Linked DNA regions of Homo sapiens: all the other regions are linked to region 2. The links are contacts of gene promoters, found by promoter capture Hi-C in blood cells and fetal thymus (Javierre and others, 2016). All regions are on one chromosome and are shown on one strand. Each heading gives the region's core, a stretch centred on a gene start or on the middle of the fragment in contact. The rest is flanking DNA. Distances are from core to core; before and after follow the strand shown.

What was found. Contacts are between HindIII fragments. The CHiCAGO score rates a contact against its expected background, and 5 or more counts as called.
Region 1: a fragment that was not itself captured here is called in contact with the fragment with the promoter of ZMYND8 in region 2 in 2 of 17 cell types (fetal thymus and naive CD4 T cells); the score reaches 5.8 in fetal thymus.
Region 3: a fragment that was not itself captured here is called in contact with the fragment with the promoter of ZMYND8 in region 2 in 2 of 17 cell types (fetal thymus and activated CD4 T cells); the score reaches 7.1 in fetal thymus.
Region 4: the fragment with the promoter of STAU1 here is called in contact with the fragment with the promoter of ZMYND8 in region 2 in 5 of 17 cell types (naive CD4 T cells, total B cells, naive B cells and 2 more); the score reaches 7.6 in naive CD4 T cells.
Region 5: a contact is called between a fragment that was not itself captured here and the fragment with the promoter of ZMYND8 in region 2, in 1 of 17 cell types (total B cells). The highest score is 5.4, in total B cells.
Region 6: the fragment with the promoter of ARFGEF2 here is called in contact with the fragment with the promoter of ZMYND8 in region 2 in 3 of 17 cell types (activated CD4 T cells, naive CD8 T cells and total B cells); the score reaches 7.1 in activated CD4 T cells.
Region 7: a fragment that was not itself captured here is called in contact with the fragment with the promoter of ZMYND8 in region 2 in 1 of 17 cell types (total B cells); the score reaches 5.5 in total B cells.

Annotation. Positions count from the first base shown.
Region 1 is chr20:49,219,283-49,222,400 of GRCh38, reverse strand. It overlaps DDX27 (DEAD-box helicase 27), which reads right to left and starts at 2,985. Exons shown (of 21, transcript NM_017895.8): 1 at 2,860-2,985; 2 at 803-949. The coding sequence starts at 2,952. It also overlaps a transcript of STAU1 not described here. RefSeq lists an enhancer at 2,672-3,118. The HindIII fragment of the contact is 1,176 bases long and covers 921-2,096 here.
Region 2 is chr20:47,355,046-47,357,956 of GRCh38, reverse strand. ZMYND8 (zinc finger MYND-type containing 8) reads left to right here and starts at 1,258. Exons shown (of 23, transcript NM_001281775.3): 1 at 1,258-1,300. The coding sequence starts at 1,287. RefSeq lists enhancers at 1-218, 1-247, 998-1,292, 827-1,434, 1,278-1,447 and 2 more. The HindIII fragment of the contact is 2,834 bases long and covers 1-1,596 here.
Region 3 is chr20:49,285,460-49,288,208 of GRCh38, reverse strand. The region is part of intron 3 of ZFAS1 (ZNFX1 antisense RNA 1); the gene reads right to left. Among named protein-coding and RNA genes, the nearest start is that of SNORD12, 6.2 kb to the right of the region's middle. RefSeq lists enhancers at 42-973, 974-1,905. The HindIII fragment of the contact is 2,344 bases long and covers 232-2,575 here.
Region 4 is chr20:49,186,868-49,190,076 of GRCh38, reverse strand. STAU1 (staufen double-stranded RNA binding protein 1) reads left to right here and starts at 1,743. Exons shown (of 14, transcript NM_017453.4): 1 at 1,743-1,961. RefSeq lists silencers at 1,470-2,139, 2,370-2,529 and an enhancer at 2,930-2,999. The HindIII fragment of the contact is 4,529 bases long and covers 1-2,917 here.
Region 5 is chr20:49,052,121-49,055,018 of GRCh38, reverse strand. The region is part of intron 1 of CSE1L (chromosome segregation 1 like); the gene reads right to left. Among named protein-coding and RNA genes, the nearest start is that of CSE1L, 7.3 kb to the right of the region's middle. The HindIII fragment of the contact is 7,559 bases long and covers 1-2,898 here.
Region 6 is chr20:48,920,348-48,923,195 of GRCh38, reverse strand. It overlaps ARFGEF2 (ARF guanine nucleotide exchange factor 2), which reads right to left and starts at 1,485. Exons shown (of 39, transcript NM_006420.3): 1 at 1,186-1,485. The coding sequence starts at 1,306. RefSeq lists an enhancer at 775-854 and silencers at 1,225-1,274, 1,315-1,414, 1,645-1,724. The HindIII fragment of the contact is 17,186 bases long and covers 1-2,848 here.
Region 7 is chr20:48,991,825-48,994,600 of GRCh38, reverse strand. It overlaps ARFGEF2 (ARF guanine nucleotide exchange factor 2), which reads right to left. Exons shown (of 39, transcript NM_006420.3): 22 at 3-150. Among named protein-coding and RNA genes, the nearest start is that of CSE1L-DT, 53 kb to the left of the region's middle. The HindIII fragment of the contact is 5,000 bases long and covers 1-2,776 here.

The DNA of each region.
Region 1 (3,118 bases), core at 259-2,758, 1.9 Mb before region 2:
GAGGCAGAGGTTGCAGTGAGTCAAGATGGTACCATTGCACTCCGGCCTGGGTGATAGAGTGAGACTCCATCTCAAAAACAACAAAAAAAAACTACAAAAAATTAGCTGGGCGTGGTGGTGGGCACCTGTAATCCCAGCAACTCGGGAGGCTAAAGCACAAGAATCGCTTAAACCCAGGAGGCAGAGGTTGCAGTGAGCTGAGATGGCGCCATTACACTCCAGCCTAAGCAATGGAGAGAGACTCTGTCTCAAAAAAAAAAAGAAAAGGCAATGCTGGTTTACTTCAATCAGAGTAAGGACCAGCAAAGCCTGGATTAAACTGTTCTGGACAGGCAATATTTCTCTTTGAAGACATGAAATGGAAAATAACTTAGATGCATCTTCTAGTTTAACCAGATTCACAGAAAGGCATGGGATCTTGGCAAACAAACAGATGACAATGACATCTGTGGTAGCTTTGGCTGTGCTGTGTGGGAACCAGGGACACTGCACAGTGACACCACCGGAGACCACCTGGCAAGTGCTCATACTTTGTTTGGTATTAAAGAGGAGTCTCCCCAGCAAGCAGACTCAGAAAAAAAAAAAAAAAAAAGACAGTGAGTCATTTGTGATCCCTGTGCCCATCTCATCAAAAGTATACCAGATATTTTCTTTTGTTTTTTTTTAACCAGTTATTTTCAAAGGAGTTGTAGTATCTGCTGAATGTAAACAGATGGTCAGTCAGGTCAGGGCTAGGCCCTGAAACTCACAGTCCAATCTTAATAGCCCAAAGTCTGGAGCTGTCCATCACTGTCAGTCTCACCTTCTTCTTGAGTTGGCTCATGACATCAGCCAGGGCCCAGCTGCCATCGTACGTCCCCTCCTTCTCAGTGAAAACGAAATCAGGGTTGAAATCAGCACTGCGGTTCTTCCCCAAAGCTTTTTGTCGTCTGCCCAGCACAATGGGCCCCTGGGAAGAGTAAGAGACAGAGTGACTTTGGGGCTGAGATAAAGAATGATAGAAAGCAAGAAGGGGCCAGGCACAGTGGCTCACACCTGTAATCCCAGCACTTTAGGAGGCGAAGGCACGCAGACAAGGTCAGGAGTTCAAGACCAGCCTGACCAACATGATGAAACGCAGTCTCTACTAAAAATACAAAAAAGACGGGTGTGGTGGCTCACGCCTGTAATCCCAGCACTTTGGGAGGCCGAGGTGGGTGGATCACAAGGTCAGGAGTTCAAGACCAGCCTGGCCAATATGGTGAAACCCTGTCTCTACTAAAAATACAAAAATTAGCCGGGCGTGGTGGCGCATGCCTGTAGTCCCAGCTACTAGGGAGGCTGAGGCAGGAGGATTGCCTGAACCCGGGAGGGGGAGGCTGCGGTGAGCCGAGATCGCGCCACTGCACTCCACCCTGGGCGACCGAGCAAGACTCTGTCTTAAAAAAAAATGAAGTGAATGAGACTGGAGTGTTGGTCATGAAGAGGAGAGCTGTGAGAGATGAAAGTCAAGGTGGAAAGGACAAGATCGTGAGGACCTTGAAAGCCACGTGAAAGCAGGCTGGAGAGTTTTTTTTGTTTTGTTTTGTTTTGTTTTTAGCAATTTGAATCATTTCTTGAAAAACAAACACAAACAATTCCCCCCGCATCATGGGTGTGACAAACACACCCCGCATCATGGGTGTGACCGGGCACTGTACAGGGGCCTGGCTCCTCGGGGACTGGCCCATGACCTCCCACGCAGCGGGCTGAGCCAAGGCCTGTCCGAGAGGGGGCCGCAGCCAGCAGGCCTGGGTGGCCGCCCGCGCCCACAGGGGACATCGGGGAAATGGCGACAGTGTACGGGACCCAGACGCTGCCTGAGGAGTCTTTGCAAGGTGGACAGGCCCGGGGGTCTCTACCAGCAGGCTGGAGAGTTTTAAGCAAGGGAGGTCTCTAACGTGACTGTATCGCAGAGATCCCTCTGCTGCTAAGCGAAGAATACACTGGAAGTGCTCAAGATAAAGAGATGAAGATGAAGTATGTTTGGACTGCAGGTGTGCTGGTGTGCAAGCATGAGACAGCAGTAGCCGGAGCTAGGGTGGGTACAGTGTGAATGGAGAGAGGCGGGAGAAGCTTAAGAGAGATTCATGAGCTAGCTTGCAGAGCACTGGCGGCGGTGAGGAAGAAAAAACTGTCAAGAATAACTCTAAGGTTTCTGGCTTGAGAAGGGAACAGGATGAGAGTGAACACAAGTTCATCTTTGGAGGAGTTGAATTTGTAGAGGCCATGGGACATCTGGATAAACCTATCAGGCGGACAGATGAGAGTGCAGAGGGGACAACATCTGGGCTGAATGTTTGAAGGGCAAGCATCCTTTTCAGAACACCAATACCTCTTTAATTGCCATACTGCTTAATGTCTGCAAGCCCCCACACCACCATACGCTTCAGGAGAGTGGCACTCACCTTGTTCATTGCTACGCCCCCAACGCTTAACACTAAGTCTAGCAGGCGTTAAGTATTCAATAAACACTGGCTCGATGAACATACGAAAGGACAGCTAACCATGGCTCCTTGAGCAGGAACCATGGCTGACTTCACCTCTTACAAGGTGTAAGAAACCTGCCGTCTCTTACACAGGGCGTGGTTAAATATCAGTTCAGTGAATAGATACTGAGTTCAGCAAGGAGACAGGGAACGACATGGCCAAAGAAGCAGGCGGACGTAGAGATAACCTAGTGGCGGGGAAACTGAGGAAGATCTTGGGGTCCCGGTGAGATCCTTTTCGGGAAACTTCCGGGGCTGGCAGGGGATGATGAGGATTCGGGGACAGGGACCTGAGGAATCGCGAGGAAGGGAAGCAGTCAAGGAAACCCAAAGACCAGAACCGTGCTCATACCTCCTCTTCCTCGTCCCCGGAGTCAGACTCGGGCTCCACCGGCACCTCGTCATCCTCGCCTATGGTTCCGATTAAGCCGAGGTCCGCAAGCATGTTGTCGCAGAAGCCACTTCCGGAAGCGAGCACAGCCTGCGGTCCGGCCCTTAACTTTTCGCAGCCTCCTCGTCGTCTTTGCGCAAGTACCATGCGTCACTTCCGTTCCAGAGCCCCTGCCGCCCTCCCCGTTCGACCTCTTAAGAGTGCGCATGCGGCAATATGG
Region 2 (2,911 bases), core at 9-2,508:
TGGGGGCTCTTGTTTCCGGGCTGAGCGTGCCATCTTTCTGTCTCCCTCTGGATTGAAATGGCTTCTCAGCCCGAGAGGCACTGCCTGTGCCCTGGATTCACAAGGTACACGCCTCCCTGGGAAGCAAAGGCTGAGAGACAGCGGCTCTCTCTCTCTCTTTCTGCATCTGCCGGGAGAGCTGCAGCTGGTATTTTTCCACAGGCCTTCGCTGCGATCTCAAGGCCTAGTTTTTCCCAGCCAGGCCCCGAGTCCGAGAGAGGGTTAACAGGCAGGAAGCCGAAGGCATCGCAGGCTAATACGGAAGTCAGATTTGTGTTTAACTGACAGGTTTAGCAGGTCTCGGCCGCGGGGGAGGGGCCGGGAGGGAAGGGAAGTTTGTAGATCCAGGCATGTGGCCTGCGAGGAGGGCTTTGGGTTTTTCTTAGGGTAAGGACCGAGAGGGGTCCCCCTTGGCATCGTGGCAGGGCGACAGGAACCCACGTTGATTTTGCCTGCAGGACTGGCTAAGCAGGGCGCGAGAGGCCCACGGCTCCCTGGCCTGCCTTGCAAGGAGGCATGGGGACAATGACTATGCAAACTTGACCACTCTGCTCCCCTCCTCCCCTCAGCAGCTACTCCTCGCTCCTCTGAGAAGCCAGGGCTGCTCTCTGCTGATTTTTCGGGGCTCCCCCGGGCTGCCTGCTTCCCCCAGCTTCTCAGAGGCCTGCCTCAAGCCCCTTTTTCTGGCCCCTTGGCTGTTTCCCCGGGACTCCCCACTCCCCAGCTTCCCCTTCCCCTTGGAGAGCCACCCTGCTGGACTGTTCTAGAAAAAGGCTGGCCTTCCTCCCTGGACAAGGGCCGTTTCTCTGGGGGCAGGTGAGGGTGAGCCGTTCCAGCCCACTCCAAGAAACTCCCTTCCCAGGGACCTCCGGGCCTCAGGCTTTCCTGGAGCAGGTCAGGCTGGCTGCCCTGGCTGGCCCGTGCCGGGAAATCTAGCCAGGGTGCAGGAGAAGTGCGTGTGGGGGCCCCTTTCCCAAGTTTTTCTTGCTGCAAAAGGCCTAGCTTAGCCTGTCTTTTTCTATGCACAGGATGGCTCTTGCTCACCCGAGCCTCACAAAGATAATCGCTCAGGAAGTGTTTCAGCCAATCCGGGGCGGCTTTACACTCCGATTTGCCGGGGCAGCCAATCGGGGATGAGCTTTTATTAGGCGGCCAGATCATCAGCCGAAGTGCCAAACCCTTTTTCTGTGAGAACTAGGAGCCTGTCCTCCATGTTTTATAAGTATTGACATTACACAGTGTTAACAATGCATCCACAGAGGTAAGCTCGACTTTTTAACCATCTTTTTTCCCCCTCCCTCTGAGACATCCGAATTGTGGGCGAGCAGTGTGATTTCTCTGTGGCTGGCCGTGCCACACTCACCCCCAGAGCACTTATGTTAACTTGGAACTGTTTAGAGAGAATTTTTTTGCTTTCTTGGGTCACATGGCTCAGTAGCCATTAGCCATAGCTTGATTTTGCAAACTGGCAAGGGCCTGGCACACCTTTCCTTCCACCAGGGCATGGTGTTTCTGGAAGAGTTTGAAGCTAGATCCTGGTATGCCAAAAAAGAAGCTTTTTTTTTTCCTTCTTTTTTTTTTTTTCTTTCCCTCTTCCCTCTCTCTTCCCCTCTCTCTCTCTCTGAGCAGTTCCCCCCCTCCCACCCCTGCACTATTGTCTTCTCTTTTGCCACATGCCCTGCTGGGGGAAGAAAATGGAAGGTAAGCAAACAGGCTCCTCTCCAAGGAGAGCTCATGGCAGACAGCAGAGCAGGCAAGTTTGCCTCTCCAAAGAGGTTCTGGGAAGGCTGGATAAGTTTTGACAAGAGAGGAGCGTGTTTGCAAAAGAATTGTGCCCTCAGCAGAGCAGTGCTAAGGAGAGTCTAGCTCCTGGGGCCTAGGTGGGTGGTGGTGTCTGTACACGGTCTTCTCTTATTCTACAGAGCTTCTGCACTTGAAACTACATTGTTCAGCCTGTTTTCCTGACTTAGGTTGCTACAGAGTGTTCTGCAAGCCAGCCTACAGCCAGCAAATGTTTCTGAAAGTGTTTTCTAGGCTTTGGAGGAAGTTTTTTGGAGTAGGGATGGGGACTGGGGGGTGGGGGGAGAGATCTTGGACAACATCCTGCAAAAAAAAAAAAAAAAAAAAATCTGCAAGGATTCTGAATCCCTTAGCTTTCTACTCTTGCATGATTTTCAAGGAACTAATGTTACCTTTTATCCTTGTTTTCATTTTCCTGTCCCTTTTATACATTGTATCCTCCTCTCTTCTCCTGTGTCATGGAGTGTAGAGGAAATAAAATCATGTCTGTGGCTCATGACAGCATTCCATATTCAGTTGTTGGGTTGTGTTGTTGTTGTTGTGTGTGTTTTTAATAATACCATGTAACTGTTTAAAAAAATTTCCTTTTTGATCAAGTCCCAAATCTGCCAGCCTGTTCTCTCTTCCTAACTGTGGAAAAATGAGACGGTTGCTTGAACATTTGTTGGGTAAGTAAAGCAATCCATTTCCTCTGTGACCATGTTTGAAGAGTTTTGCGAACATTTGGGGTCTGTTTGTAATAGTGGGTCTTGGCTACAGGAGTTGGGGGCTTCATTAGCAGGAACAAAATAAGGGCTTTTTAAAGAGTGTCTTGATTTTAGGTGACTGTTTGAATCCACTGTTTTTCCTGATAACCTGCAGCTAGGATTGAAGATTATACTTCCTGTTTACCCTGAGTCAGGGGAGAAATGTTCAGTTCATTGTGACTTGACTCTAGACCTTTAATGGGGTTTGTTTGGATATTCAAACTGTGAGTAGGTGATGTGCTTGTGAAATGTCATGAAACTGCTTGTTCTTAGAGGTGCAGAGCCCTAAAAACATTGGTGGTGTAGAAGCTGGTGGTGGTGGTGGT
Region 3 (2,749 bases), core at 154-2,653, 1.9 Mb before region 2:
AAAACAAAATACTTCTAAGATGAGTCATCACTGACTGACATGAACTACAATTTTTGAGGTTTTGGTTTTTTAATATAAAAGTTGGAGAATTATGAGGAGCCACATCTATGATGGCAAAAACACTATACTCAAAAGGTGTAAGAAAACTCAGTTTGCTTATTCCCCTTCCATTGATTAAGGACACCAGGCAAACTGGAGGATGATGCAACACAGTTATTTGGTAAAAAAGCTTCCCTGTGTTAGCTCAATTTATTGAGGGATTGTAAAGGTCAGCAGAAGGAAAGCATACAATCATGGTCTCAGGCCACAGTATGCTTATCTGCTGTAAAGTCCAGCCATGTGACCAGACATGGAGGTAGTGTCCCCAAGGGACACAGAAAAGGAGTGGTGTTACTTTCTCTTTAAAGGGGGTGGAAGGTATAGACTTCAAACATCCATCTCTGCTATGTCTTTCTCTCCTGGGTTTGCTTATAGACAAAGCTGCCATGTTAACAGGCCCATGTAACAAGGAGCTGAGGATGGCTCATGGTAGTAGTATGATGAATCTTATAACTGAACCTCACAAGAATTAAGTAAAATCAATTGACTCCCAACTTAAATATGATTTGGAGCTCCTTATCTTACTAAGTGAATTGGCCAAGGAAAATTAGCTCCACCCAATGTTCAATCACTTTGTCATCCTTTCTTACAAGACTGTTAGGTATGATGGGTTTCTCTTCAAAGTTTAACTTCCTTGTTCTTTGTTCTTAAGGTCAACTTCCTCATACCTTCCCACTCCTAATTACCCATTCTGTAAACATTTCTCCCACCAATCCCAACCTGTAACCCGCATTTGTTCCTTATCTGGAAAAGTCTCCCTCGCTCGTGGCAACTGCTCTTCCCACTGCTGTAACCCACACCCCTCCTGTTTAAAATAGCCAATCAGGACTAGTTTAGATTGGACTCTAGCCAATGGGGATAGAACACAGAAGCAGGAACTAGCTGTGTTAGGGATAAAAACCACTTCACCTCCTTTGTTCGGGGTGCTCTCACTGTGACCAGGAGTGCAAGCAGCACCATTCTGCAGAAGTAAATCTGCCTTGCTGAGAAATCTTTTGGAGATCATTTTCTTTGCAACTCTGAGCTCTTATTGCCAACAATTTGGGAGCTCATCTGGGATTACCGTTCTCCTTCAGGAGAAGCCCACGATCACCTCTCTTGAGGAGAGGCATCCCACCACCTCTTTGCGGTGGCCTCACAAACAGGAGATTGGGTCCCACCCAAGGTGACACATAAACCCAGACTCTCAGCAACACAGGCGGAAAGGATCCTCACATACTGCGGTGACCAGGTAACTGCACAGACCAAGTTAAGAAAAGTCACAGGGGCGACAAAGTATTTCCTTGGTGGTCAGGGCATTTTAGAGGTTGAAAGTGTGTCAATGAGACGCACAACTGAGTGCGAAGCGAGCGATGATTCCGGATCTGTGATTCCATGGTCACCTCGTATAGCTTATGGTGGATTCCTGTCATGGGGCTTATACTGACACACCAATGCTAAGGAGGACCTGAAATATTCCCTCCTGGGAAGCAGCCAGAGAAGGATGAAGCAAAAGGAGAAGAGTGCAAGAAATCTCCAGTAGCCAGGGGCTGACCCTCTAGAGAAAGGAATGGCAAGAAATCTCCAGTAAGGGAGGTTGAGCCTATGAGGAAAGGCAATAAATCTAATTTTGGGCCTCACACCAAACCTTCATTATGCAAAATACCTCAAGAAAGACAGTAAATAGAAAGGATCAAATTAATGACAGTAACATCCCCTCTGACAGTCCCCTAGGTTCTCATGCTAAAAGGATAGTGAAAGGACTAAACATAACTACAGGAAGCAAGCCAGAAGCCAACTCCTCTGAAAGGAGTAAGGTCTCTACCCCCGAACAGCCTGCTAACATATGGGACCCACCAGACCACTTGCCTCTGCCAAACCCCATGCATCAAGCCGGTACACAGGATCCCCCCACTCATCAGTCCCTCCCCCATATAATCCTGAATCAATACCCCATGTTCCCCCTAGCCACACACTTAAGCCCTACAGCATGAAATAGAACAATGTAAAAAGGATACTCAGAACTTCCCTTTCCCCTTTCCACCTCCAAAGAATTGCCCCCAACTCTCTTCCCCTTGAAGAAGTGCCCCTTGGGAGAGGAGGCATCAGCTTCGTAAATGCCCCCTTAACCAGCTCAGAAGTACAAAATCTAAAAAAAAAGAAAAACTCAAGCCCTTGTTAGATGACCCTTATGGGGTAGCAGATCAAATCATTTTTTAGGACCCCAGTTGTATGGGCCGAGCTTATGTCCATTTTAGGCATTCCCTTCTTGGGAGAAGAACCATGATCCATAGGGCTGCTTTGGTAGTCTGGGAACATTAACACCCTACCGGTCAAAATGTTCCATCAGTATCCCGAACTGAGAGTATTTCCCAAGCATTCAACATACAAGGGATGGATGAAGGACCCATGAATTCCTAAATAGGCTTAAAGAACAGATGAGAAAATATGCAGGTTTAGAAATGGAAGACCCACTGGGGCAAGGGATGCTAAAGCTTCATTTTGTTACTAAGACTTGGCCAAACACCTCTAAAAACAACTACAAAAGATAGAGAATTGGAAAGATTGTCCCAGAGACTAACTTCTTAGAGAAGCATATAAGTAGGGACAAAGAGCAGCAGAAACAAAAGGCAAAAATCATGCTGTCTACCTTACAACAGAGAACTCTGCA
Region 4 (3,209 bases), core at 494-2,993, 1.8 Mb before region 2:
TTAGCAGAGGGCTGGACAATATCTGAATGTTGCTTACTACTGTCTTGGATGGGCACTAAAGGGACGGTGAAAGTCCTTTGACTATTTTTGGTGTTCTGAAATTCAGTGTCATTGCACTTCACAAGAAGCAATGTAAGGAGGCAAGTGTCCTCCCAGGCTTCGCTAAGGCTCCAAAGCCTTGTTTGGAGGGGCCTCTTCAGACACAGCAGCTCGTATTTTGAATTTATATTCCGTTGGCAAGAGAGATTGAGCAATTATTAGATTGAGAGACATTTAAGAAAGAGAGAATTATTTTTAAATAGTGGGGCGGCAGTCCCAGAGTGAGCGGGAGAGAGAAGCTCTGTGCACCTGCAGTTCCTTCATTCATTCTCAGTTTCTTGGACCTCTCACAACGCGAGCATAATTTTCGCTGAGTGTGCAGAAGTTCAAGATTCTTTTTTTTTTTTTTTTTTTTTTTGAGACAGAGTCTCACTCTGTTGCCCAGGTTGGAGTGCAATGGCGTGATCTCGGCTCACTGCAACCTCCGTCTCCCGGGTTCAAGAGATTCTCCTGCCTCAGCCTCCCAAGTAGCTGTGATTACAGGCGCCCACCACTGCATCCGGCTAGTAGAGACGGGGTTTCACCATGTTAGTCAGGCTGGTCTCGAACTCCTGACCTCAGGTGATCCGCCCACCTCGGCCTCCCAAAGTGCCGGGATTACAGGCGTGAGCCACTGCGCCTGGCCAAGATTCTTTACTGGCCACCCTCTCTCCAACCTCCCATACAATACAGCTGCTAAAAACCACTTAGTTTATCTAGGTCTGGGTGAAATAAATAGTAATCTGGCACTTCTCGTCTTTTTTTTTTTTTTTTTTTTTTTTTTTTTTTTTTTTTTTGAGACCAGTGTCTCTTTGTCGCCAAGGCTGGAGTGCAGCGGCGCGATCTCAGCTCACTGCAATCTCCGCCTCCCGGGTTCAAGCGATTCTCCTGCCTCAGCCTCCCGAGTAGCTGTTTACCTACAGGCGCCCGCCACCACGCCCGGCTAATTTTTTGTATTTTCAGTAGAGACGGGGGTTTCACCGTGGTAGCCAGGATGGTCTCGATCTCTTGACCTAGTGATCCGCCCGCCTCGGCCTCCCAAAGTGCCGGGATTAGAGGCCTGAGCCAACGCGCCCGGGCCATTGTCTTTTATCTCACTACACATTTTTCAATTTTATTTATTGTGTATTTTACTTACACAAGAATGTAAGCTCCACGAGGGCAGGGATTTTTGTCAGTTCACCACTACATTCTTAGCTCTTGGAGCAATGCCTTGCATATGGCAAGCATTTAATGAACATTTACAGATGGAGGAAGAAACAACTGCAGGAAGGAGAGAAAGGAAGGCCAGAGGCAGGACAAGAGGAAGAAGCGACAGCAAGGAAGGAAAAAGGAAGTGGAGGAGGAAAGAAGGTAGGCTGGGTTCTCCCAGACCCGCTTCGAGTCCAGCAGGCAGCGCGAAACTCCCACCAGAACTACAACTCCCGGCAGGCCCCGGGACTCAGGACGGGCCGCTGCGGTCCAGGCGGGACAGGGCGCTCCTCCCGCTGGGCCCCCGGCGTGCCTTGCGAGCGCAGGCTCCGCCGCAGTGCCAGCCGGAACTTGTGGTTCGGACCGTGGGTGGGGGTGGGGCCGGGGCCGGGCCTGGAGGCGGGCGGGGGCCGGGGGCGGGCGCCTGCCCCTCCCCCGTCACTTCCTGCCGGGCTGCGGGCGCCTGAGCGGCTCTTCAGCGTTTGCGCCGGCGGCTGCCGCGTCTCTCTCGGCTCCCGCTTCCTTTGACCGCCTCCCCCCCCCGGCCCGGCGGCGCCCGCCTCCTCCACGGCCACTCCGCCTCTTCCCTCCCTTCGTCCCTTCTTCCTCTCCCTTTTTTCCTTCTTCCTTCCCCTCCTCGCCGCCACCGCCCAGGACCGCCGGCCGGGGGACGAGCTCGGAGCAGCAGCCAGGTGAGGCGGCCGGGCCGGGCCGGGCCTGGTGGGGCCCTCGCGGGCGCCGCCGCGGTGGGGAGGTGGGCGGCGGGTGGGGCCTAGGCCTCGGCGGGCCCGCGCACCCCTCCGCCTTCTCCCGGGCCTCTCTCTAGCCCGCGGGGCCTTCCCGGAGGAGGCGGGTCCTCTTGCGTTCCCTCGCCTCGGGGCGCCCTGAGGCCTGGCCCCGGGCGCCCCCATCCCCTCCAGCCCTCACCGGTGCCACAAACAGGTGCTGCGGCCGCCTTTCCTCGTCCCGCATGGCGCGCGCGGGGATGCCGAAGTTATTCCCGGGGCTGGGGCGCAGGCGGGGGGGGGGGGGGGTCCCTGCTTCAGGTCCCCGAGGGCTGGAGCCTCTCAGTGTCGCCGGCCCAGGTCTGTAGCTTAGTGGTTAAGAGCACGGCCCAGGTGTCCAAAACGGGTGCCGAACCCGGCTCTGCCCCGTTAGGCAAGACACTTAAAAAGTCTTTGTGTCTTGGTTGGAAAAGGGGCTGCTAATACCGTCCCTGCCTCTTAAGGTTCAGTGAAATGGGGCGTGTAAAGCGCTTATCAGAGTGCCAGACCCACAGCGTGTCCCAGTAAACCGTCTGCATAATTTATTAGCGTGATATGAAGGTATAATTTAATGGGCAGAGTGGATAGAAGTTGACCTACCTATCCGTTTGGGTTTCTTAGAGGCTGCAGTGTTCCGCGTGCCCATGTCCAGAGCCAGGGCATTGTTTTCAGTTGTTAACATCTGAAAGGGGCGTACGCTTAATTGGGACACTGTAGTTGACAGTCTGTAAACGATGGATGCTGTTTCTTTCCATCTCCGCTTAGGCAACTGCAGGATATTCACCATCTCCCGCAGGATGAGCAACCTGTCCATTTCTCCCCGCCCCGCCATCATCCAGCTTCTTCTTGTCATTCCATTTCTGGGAAAGTTGCTGGCAGAAGCTTCCCTTGAGTTGAGCAAACCTATCTAGAGCACTTGCTGTGTGTTGGGCTCTGAAGGGGGGTGTACGGAGATGGAAAAATTTGTCTGTCTTGTCTTGCTCTACACCTCGATAAGTTTTTTTTCACGGAAGCTTTGCTTATATTCACCCCTCCCTGTTGGCTGACTTTCCTTTTAAGCCCTTGCCCCGCCTCCGTGTTGCAGTATTGCTTGTGTGGAAGTTTTCTTCTGTTCCGCGAAGATACGTGCTTCAGTCTGTTCTGCCACTGTTCTTCGGCTGTGTGGAAGTTTTTAAG
Region 5 (2,898 bases), core at 303-2,802, 1.7 Mb before region 2:
ACCTTAAACGTTAGAAAATTAAGAAGGGAGTCACGGGGTTATGTGGCCATCCAAGAGTTTCCCAGAGCCTGAGCCTTGAGCTGAACCTTGAAAAATATGTGTATCTGAATAGGCAAAGTAGGATGAGGGCGCATCTGCCAAAATGAATTGTGAGAGCAAAGTAACAGAGATGGGAAGAGAGAATAGTGGGCTAGGAGATCAAGACCAGATCATATAGGTTCCTCCATACTTGGCTGAAGAGTGCCATGATTTAATGTATGGGGAAGTCATGAAGGTTTTCTTAAGTGGGTAAAAATGTAATGAAAGTGGAGTAGAGGACCTTTGGGCTGGTAATGGTTTGCAGAATGGGGGAAGTGTCACATGTATGAACCAGGCACACGATGCTAGATGTTTTCATAGGCTTCATATCATTTATTCCACACAATGATTTTACACACAAAGAAGGGCACTCAGGTTGACATATATTAACTATATATGGTTAATAAATAAAGATCAGATTTAAATCAGTCCAACTCCGTAGGTCTACCCTCTTTCTATTACCCAAGGCTGCCTCTTAGGTGGAAATGACAGACGGCTGACCAAGAGTGAAAGCACTCACAACACAATAGAAAGGCTGATGTGAAAAGAGGGCAGCCAGAGGACAACTGAGCGGTGGGGAGCCAGAAAATAAGAAAATATTATCTAATGCTGTGCTTATGCAGGGCACTCCCCAACAGCCAGAAACCCCAACCTTCTAAAGAGAATTATCTGTATTCTACATGCTGCAGTCCTTCCCCTTAATTAGAAAATGTGTTTATCACAGGAAGCTAATGTTCTGACTGAGTAGATCCCACCACCTACCTAATCACTCCCTCTAATCCAGGTGTTCCACTCTATAGGTGTGAAAATCAAGTCCCATTAAACCACACATACAATCTATTGAGAGGCTATACCCTTTATGGTTTTTTATATCACAAGTTTGGAAAATGCTACACATTATATCCTGCCCCACTTTGGAGATTCACAATACAAAGCACTTTAAACTCACAAAGTTACTGGTTCACATCAATTAATCCAGAGTCTCCACTGGTGGGAGGCTGAGGCAGACGATCGCTTGAGCCCAGGAGTTCAAGACCTGCCTGGGCAACATGGCAAAACCCCATCTCTACTAAAAATACAAAAAATTAGCCGGGCGTGGTGGTGTGGCCCTGTAGTCCTAGCTACTTGGGAGGCTAAGGTGGGAGGATTGCCCAGTCTCTCCCATTATTTGGCTATAGAACTCCTTTTCAATAGAACACACTTTGGAAAGCAATGATTTAATCCATTTATTTTCCTATTCCTTTTTTCTGTATTGAAATGGTGGATCAGTTATGAAATCATGAAAGTTTGGGCCAGGTGTGGTGGCTCACACCTATAATCCCAGCACTCTGGGAGGCTGAGAGGGGCAGATCACCTGAGGTCAAGAGTTTGAGACCAGCCTGGCCAACATGGTGAAACCCCGTCTCTACTAAAAATTAGCCATGCCTGGTAGCACATGCCTGTAATCCCAGCTACTTGGGAGGCTGAGGCAGGAGAATTGCTTGAACCTGGGAGGCAAAGGTTGCAATGAGGCGAGATTGCGCCATTGCACTCCAGCCTGGGCAACAAGAGAGAAACGCAGTCTCAAAAAAAAAAAAAAAAAAAAAAAAAAAAGTTAGTTTGCTGTGGTCAAGTTAAATCATTAACATCAGTGTATCTGAGTTAAAGGAAATTGGCCTTTCTTTGCCATATGCAAATTTATTCTACCTTTGGGGATTCATGCAAGGCAGATTGTTAGAAACTTGGGTGGGGAGGGTGCAGGGGCAGATTTACAGATCTATTTTGTCTTTAAAAAAAAAAAAAAAAAAAAAAAAGAGAGACAGGGGGTCTCACTGTATTGTCCAGATTGGATTCTAACTCCTGAGCTCAAACAATCCTCCTGCCTCAGCCTCTGGAATAGCTGGGACTACAGGCATATGCCACCACACAGGGCTTATTTTCTTGATTTTTAAAAATACACTTCTTAATAAATCTGCATTTCACTTTCTTCATTATGTTTCTCTAGCATTTGTATATTTCTCAACTAAAACTCCTTAGATTCCTCATAATTACTTGTCTTAAACACCCAAACTCCTGGCCAGGTGCAGTGGCTGCCGCCTGTTAGCCCAGCATTTTGGGAGGCCAAGGCAGGTGGATTGCTTCAGCCGGCTTCAGACCAGCCTGGGCTAACACAGCAAGACCCTGTCTCTACTAAATATACAAAAAATTAGCCAGGTGTGGTGGCACACACCTGTAGATCCAGCAAATTGAGACTGCTGTGAGTTGTGATCAGGCCACTGCACTACAGACTGGGCAATGGGAGTGAGACCCTATCTCCAAAACAACCACCACCACCACCACCACCACCAAATCCCTTACCACAGCAGGGTCTAAGCAATCTGGTATCTACTGACCTCATCTCCTACCTCCTCCTGGCTCTTGCTACATTCCAGGCACAAAAGCCTTCTGTTCTACAAACTGGCCACAAGAGTTCTCCCTGACCATAATAATGCTCATCCTCTAATTTGATAATGGACACCATTCAGCACTCAGCCCACTGTCAACTCTTCAAAAAGGCCTTCTACGATTACCATCTACATCATCCTTGTTTTACTGTGTTAGCAATTACCCTCATTTGAAATAAACTTCTTTGTCGTCTCATACACACACTAGACTGCAAGCTCCTGAGGGCAGGGACTTTCGTCTGTATGCTCAGGACCTTCAGCATTACCTGGCACACAGTACATATTTAGTAAGCATTTGTTGTATGAACTAAAGGATAAGTCACAACATGTCAGTCACCCAGCAAAACATGAGTTTCCAGTCAAGACTGGAGACTATCCCTTCAGATCAATCATTAGC
Region 6 (2,848 bases), core at 236-2,735, 1.6 Mb before region 2:
CTTGAAAACAGCTCTGGTCAAATGCATGGATTCTCCCACCAAGAACTCTCTTCTGAAACTCCATATGGTGGATAGTTCTTGCCTTTCAGTATTCAGCTCAAGTGTCACCCTCTTGGAAAAGATTACTTTCCTGACCACCTGATTACTTTTCCTCTTGGAAAAGATTACTTTCCTGACCATGGAAAGCAGTCCTCAAGCCCTCTTTATCACATCTTGCTGTTTTATTTTCAAAATAGTATTTATCAGTATTCCAAAATACCTCACCTATTTTCTTAATTAATTATTTTGTCTCCTCTATTCGAGTATAAGCTCCATAGGGGTAAGGACCATGTCCGTCTTGTTCCCCACTGAATTCTCAGTACCTGGTATGCAGTGGGCACTTGATAAATATTTGTTAAATGATTAAAACTGAAAGATAGGATAGTGATTTTGCTATCAATTATCAAGCCTTTAACTATTAGTTAGAATTCTCCCTCTTTCCATAATCTGAGGGTCCATTCAATCAGCAAATATTTATCGAGCACCTACTGTGCGCCAGGCACTGTTGCAAGCGCAAGGGATACAGCAATGAATAAGTCAGACAAGTATCTTCGCGCTGAAGACCTTGTATTTTAGTGGACTGCTAGGAATAAGCAGATGTCTTGCTCACTACAATGCCTGGGAGATCCAGAACACCTTCTACAATCCTTCCTTGAGGGAAAGAGCTATGGGAGATCCCCAAACCAAAGGAAAACATTCTCCAACGGGCACTTCCAAAACAAGAATCAGGGGTTTCCCTAAACCAGTTGGACGGCTCTTCCTACATGCTCTGTTCACCTAGGGGAACCCCAATCAGCAGAGCTCAGGTAACGAAAAAACTTGGGGCAAGGGCTACTGTTTCTAGGACTTGGAGGTGGTGAGGGGAGGAACCAGGAAACAGGGCGACAAGGAATCGTGGCAAAAGCCCTGAGCTGGAACCCTGAGGAACAAGCTCTGGTTGTCACCAACTTGCTAGGTGACCTTGGGCCAGTCCCGAGCTGCCCGGGCAACACTTCCTCCGGGGGTATAATGAGGAGGAGGCCGGAAGGGTGGAATTCGGGATCGGGGGGAAGCGGAGGCCAGGAGGCCGGGCCAAGGCCGAGTAGGATAGGGCAACGGCCGACGTGCTGAGGCCAGCGCGGGGCAGGGCGGGAGCGGCTCACCCACCGAGCGCCACCTGGCAGGCCCTGCGCAGCTGGGAGTGCTGGGGCCGCTTCACCTCCTTGTCGGCTAGGATCTTCTCCAGGGCCCGGGACACGAACATGCTCTTGGTCTGGCTCTCCTGCATGGCCCCGGCCCGGCGGGGGCTGACGGCCCCGCGGGCGGGCGGCGTGAGCGAGATGGCGAGCTAGGCTGCGGGCCCGGCGTCCCGGCCGGCACCGGCCGCGTCCGTCCGCGCCGCCCCGTCAGGAAGCGACACCTCGGCCCCACGGCGCCGCCATGTTGGAGCGCGTCACGTGACCACGTGACTGGCGAGGCCGCTACGGCCGCCTAGCGTCCGTCGGCCCCGTGACCCCCAGCGGGGCGGAGCCTAAGGCTGGGGGCGGAGCGGAGTCAGGTGGGCGAGAGACAGAAGGCGAGGGTGGAGGGTGGAAGAAGAGAAGGTGGGGAGGGGAGTGGGCATGGGCGAAGGGTATAGGGGACGCGGGGGCTAAAGAAAGGCGAAAGCGGGGAGAGGTGGTGATGGAGATGAGAGGAGAGAAGCGCAAGGTAACGGGAGGTGAAGGGGAGCACGAGAATGGAGATGACGTGGGTAAGAGAGGAGATGAGGAAAGGAAGGGGAACGAGAGGATTGGCAAAAAAGAACGGTGACAAGGAGAGATGATAAAGGGGCAGGAGGAGAAGGCGAGTAGGAAAGAAAAGAGGTGAGGGAGCGAGGACTGGAAGCTGGTGAATGAATGAGAAGTGATCGGGAGTAAGGGGCGTCAGGAGGAAGGAGGAAGGGCGATGAGAAGGCGGCGGCGGAGGGGAAGGGGGGAGGCCCGGCGCGGCGGCTCACGCCTCTAATCCCAGCGCTTCCGGAGGCCAAGGCGGGAGCATCGCTTGAGCCCAGGAGTTCGAGACCAGCCTGGGCAACATAGGGAGACCCTTTCTCTACAAAATAAAAAGTAAAACAGCCGGGCCTGGTGGCGCTGCTTGTGGTCCCAGCTACTGGGGAGGCTGAGGTGGGAGGATCGCTTGAGCCTCGGAGGTTGAGGCCGCAGTGAGCTGTGATGGCACCACTGCACTCCAGCCTGGGCCACAGAAGGAGACCCTGTCTCAAAAAACAAACAAACAAAAAGGAGGTGAGTTAGTTATGGAGGAGATGAGGTGGTGTGGGAAGAGGTGAGAGGGAGGCACAGAGGTAAAAGAAAAAGGAGAAAGACAGGAGGGAGAGGGGAAGTGAAAAGGAAAGAGAGGTAGAAATGAGAGGAGGGGAAAGAGTAGGAGAAAGGGTGAAGGGAGAGGAGGTAGGAAGGGGAGCTGTCAGGAAGAACAGAAAAGAAAGAAAAAGATGAGAGTAACAAGTTAGGAAAACAGGAAAGAGATGGAAAAAGGAATGGTGTAGGAAGGAGGTGAAGGGGAAGGAGGTGAGGAAGAGTGGAAAGAACATGCTGGGAGAATAGGAAATGGAAGGGGTGGAGGGAGAGGGGAGGTGAAAGGAAGACAGAGAGGGAGAGAGAGAAGGTGTGTTTATGTCTATTCTCCACAAGCAGGGTTTCACCACAGCCACTGGCAAGATACACACATCCATATGACCCTCCTGTCACAGCAGCAGTGACCTTGCAGTTCAGTGAACTTCTGTTTATTGAGTGTCGCAGCTGTGCATAGTATACCAGGAAGCACTGAC
Region 7 (2,776 bases), core at 273-2,772, 1.6 Mb before region 2:
ACCGAGGCCAAGGCCCATGAACTCTTCTCCTGCCAATGTGTGGCCCTTCAGGCTCCCTTCTCTTTCACGCCCAGATCCAGACAGGTAGCGCGTCTTCACACCGGTTCCTATCAGCTGAGCGAGCTCCAGCTGGCTGATGCATTTCAAGATCTAAGAGAAAGAAGGCATGAAGAAATGAGTTCCTACCTTACAGCTAGAAAAAGGGCACTGTAATCTTAAGTTAGTCATTAAAAAAAAGTTGGTTCAATGGAGTTATGCCATATAGATGTTTATGCAAATTTAGTAAGCTCTCAATAAAGAGAGAAAAAGCATTTGACTGGGGCGGCGGATTCCTCCCACCATGTCACTTAATAGGCACATCATTTAGTCACCCCCACCTCCTTTTTCCACCCTCCTCGTGAGACGACAAGACACCAGCCTCATTGGCCTCACTGTTGCTCCTTTAACTTGTCATCTCTTGTCCCACCTCAGGGCCTTGGCACTCACTGTTCCTTATGCCTGGAATGTTGTCTCCCCATGGCTCACTCCTTCAATTCCCAGCTCAGACATGTGTGTCCCTCTCAAAGAGATCTTTCTTGTGAGATCGTACCTTCCCATTACCATGTCCTGCTCATACTTTTTTTTTCTTAGTGCTTACCACTTTTTGGCATTATACCATATATCTATTTGTTTGTTTCCTGCCTTAGGTGCCAAGAGGGCATTAACTCTGTCTTGTTCACTGCTGAACACTTAAGTCCCTGGCACTTAAAGTTGTTGGCAATCGTTAATTGGTTTAACTGAAGGAATGAGAATATGCTCTACATCAGGCATGCAGTGGGAGATGAGGCTGGATCTCCTGGTCCTGAGGGGTGCCTCTGGTGCTTGAGAATGCAGATCTGCACACGGGCCCTCCTACCTGAAGCTCAGCTGTAGAAACAGAAACTGGTCCCAACTTCTGTCAGAGGAAACACTGGCTACATGAAACTTACCAAGGAATGGCACACAGACCTCCAGGGAAACCCTAAGGAATTTTCATGGGAACTTCTGACTGAACTTCAGTGTTGCTTTTTACGCTGACCTTACAACTCAGTCCCAGAGTCCAGGACTCCACTATACCACTGAGCACTGCCGAGTATCTTTACTTATAAATTGCTTTCTTCTTGACTGAGAAATAGACTTAATTCCACCAAAGAGAATCATCCCCTGATTTCTTCACACACTATTAAATTATTATTAGTAAGCTAGTAATGTCCTCCCTTTTGCAGAAGCTGGGGACAGCTGGAATCTCAAGTACGTCACCAATACTGAAAGGTCAAGGGCTTATTAGTTCCAAGCTGATTTCTCAGGGCTTCTGACAACCGCAGAGGTAGCTAATTAATTTTTAACATTTCTAGATTCTGCCATATACTTGGCTGGCAGCAGGAACCTCATATTGATAATACCTCCCAGGCTAAAAAAATGTTTTAGAAGAAAAAGCAACTATTCATTGATTCTCTACGTATTATGGCTCCTTAGAAGGCAGGAAATGATTTTAAAAAGCACACAATTCAAAATATATATTTTTTTATTTTAGAGATGAGGTCTTGCTCTGTTGCCCAGGCTGCAGCACAGTGGTGCAATCAAGGCTCACTACAGCCTTGAACTCCTGGGCTCAAGCAATCCTGCTGCCTCAGCCTCCTGAGTAGCTGGGACTACAGGCATGAACCACCATGCCTAGCTAATTAAAAAAATAATTTTTTTTTAAAGATATGGGGTCTTGCTATGTTGCCCAGGCTGGTCTGGAACTCCTGGCCTCAAGCCATCCTTCTGCCTCAACCTCCAAAAGTTCTGGGATTACAGGTGTGAGCCACTGTGCCCAGCCATAACTCAGTTATTTCTAACATGGACTACTCAGAGTTGTGACAGAGAGAGGAAAGGCTGGTGAAGAGGAGCAAAGCCATACGCCACGGAGATGACAGCAGGTAACACTATTGAGTTCTTATTACTTGCCAAATACAGTCCCAAGCCCTCTTCATTTTCATAACCACCCTGTGAAGATTGTAGAGATGAAGAAGGTGGGACTCGGTGACTAAGTAACCTGCCTGTGCCATCCAGGCAGGAAGAGGTGGAGCCCCAAATCAGACCCCAGTTGCCAGGCTCTAGAGCCTTTACTCTGAATCTGAGCCATGTGGTCCACATGGGGAAGAAGGATGACAGCAATTTTCTATGTCAAACTGTCCTTTACATTCTCCACAGCCTCATCTCTATTCTTTCACAGTTTTCTCTCTAAACAAAAAAGTAATACATGTAGATGGCAGAAAAAATTAGAAATTAAGAAAAAAAAGAATAAAACAGTTTCCATAATTCTATTTCTCAGACAGAATGTTAATGCTTTGGTCTATCCTTTCAAACTGCATTCTCTGTGTATTTTGCCACGAGAGACAATGCCTCACAATCTCTTATAACAACTTGTAATTTTACTGTGACCATTTTCCCACAATAGTCTTTAAAATCATCTTTTATCTTCTTTTCTGAAATCTCTTTTAATTCATAGGTAACCCTCCTCCCTTATTTTTCTTGCAATTTTTTTGCTGAAAAACCTGGTCATCTGCTCTGCAGGTCTGTCACACCTAGAATTTCCAAGCTGCACCCTCATATCTAACATGCTTCTCTGTCCACTGTATTTCCTGTAAACTGGCAATATAGGCTTGAATCAATTCAGATTTGAGTTGGGGCTAGAACATTTCTTAGGTAGTATTGTGTACTTCCATCAGAGAGCACATACTATCTGCCTGTCTTTTTTTTCCACAACATTATT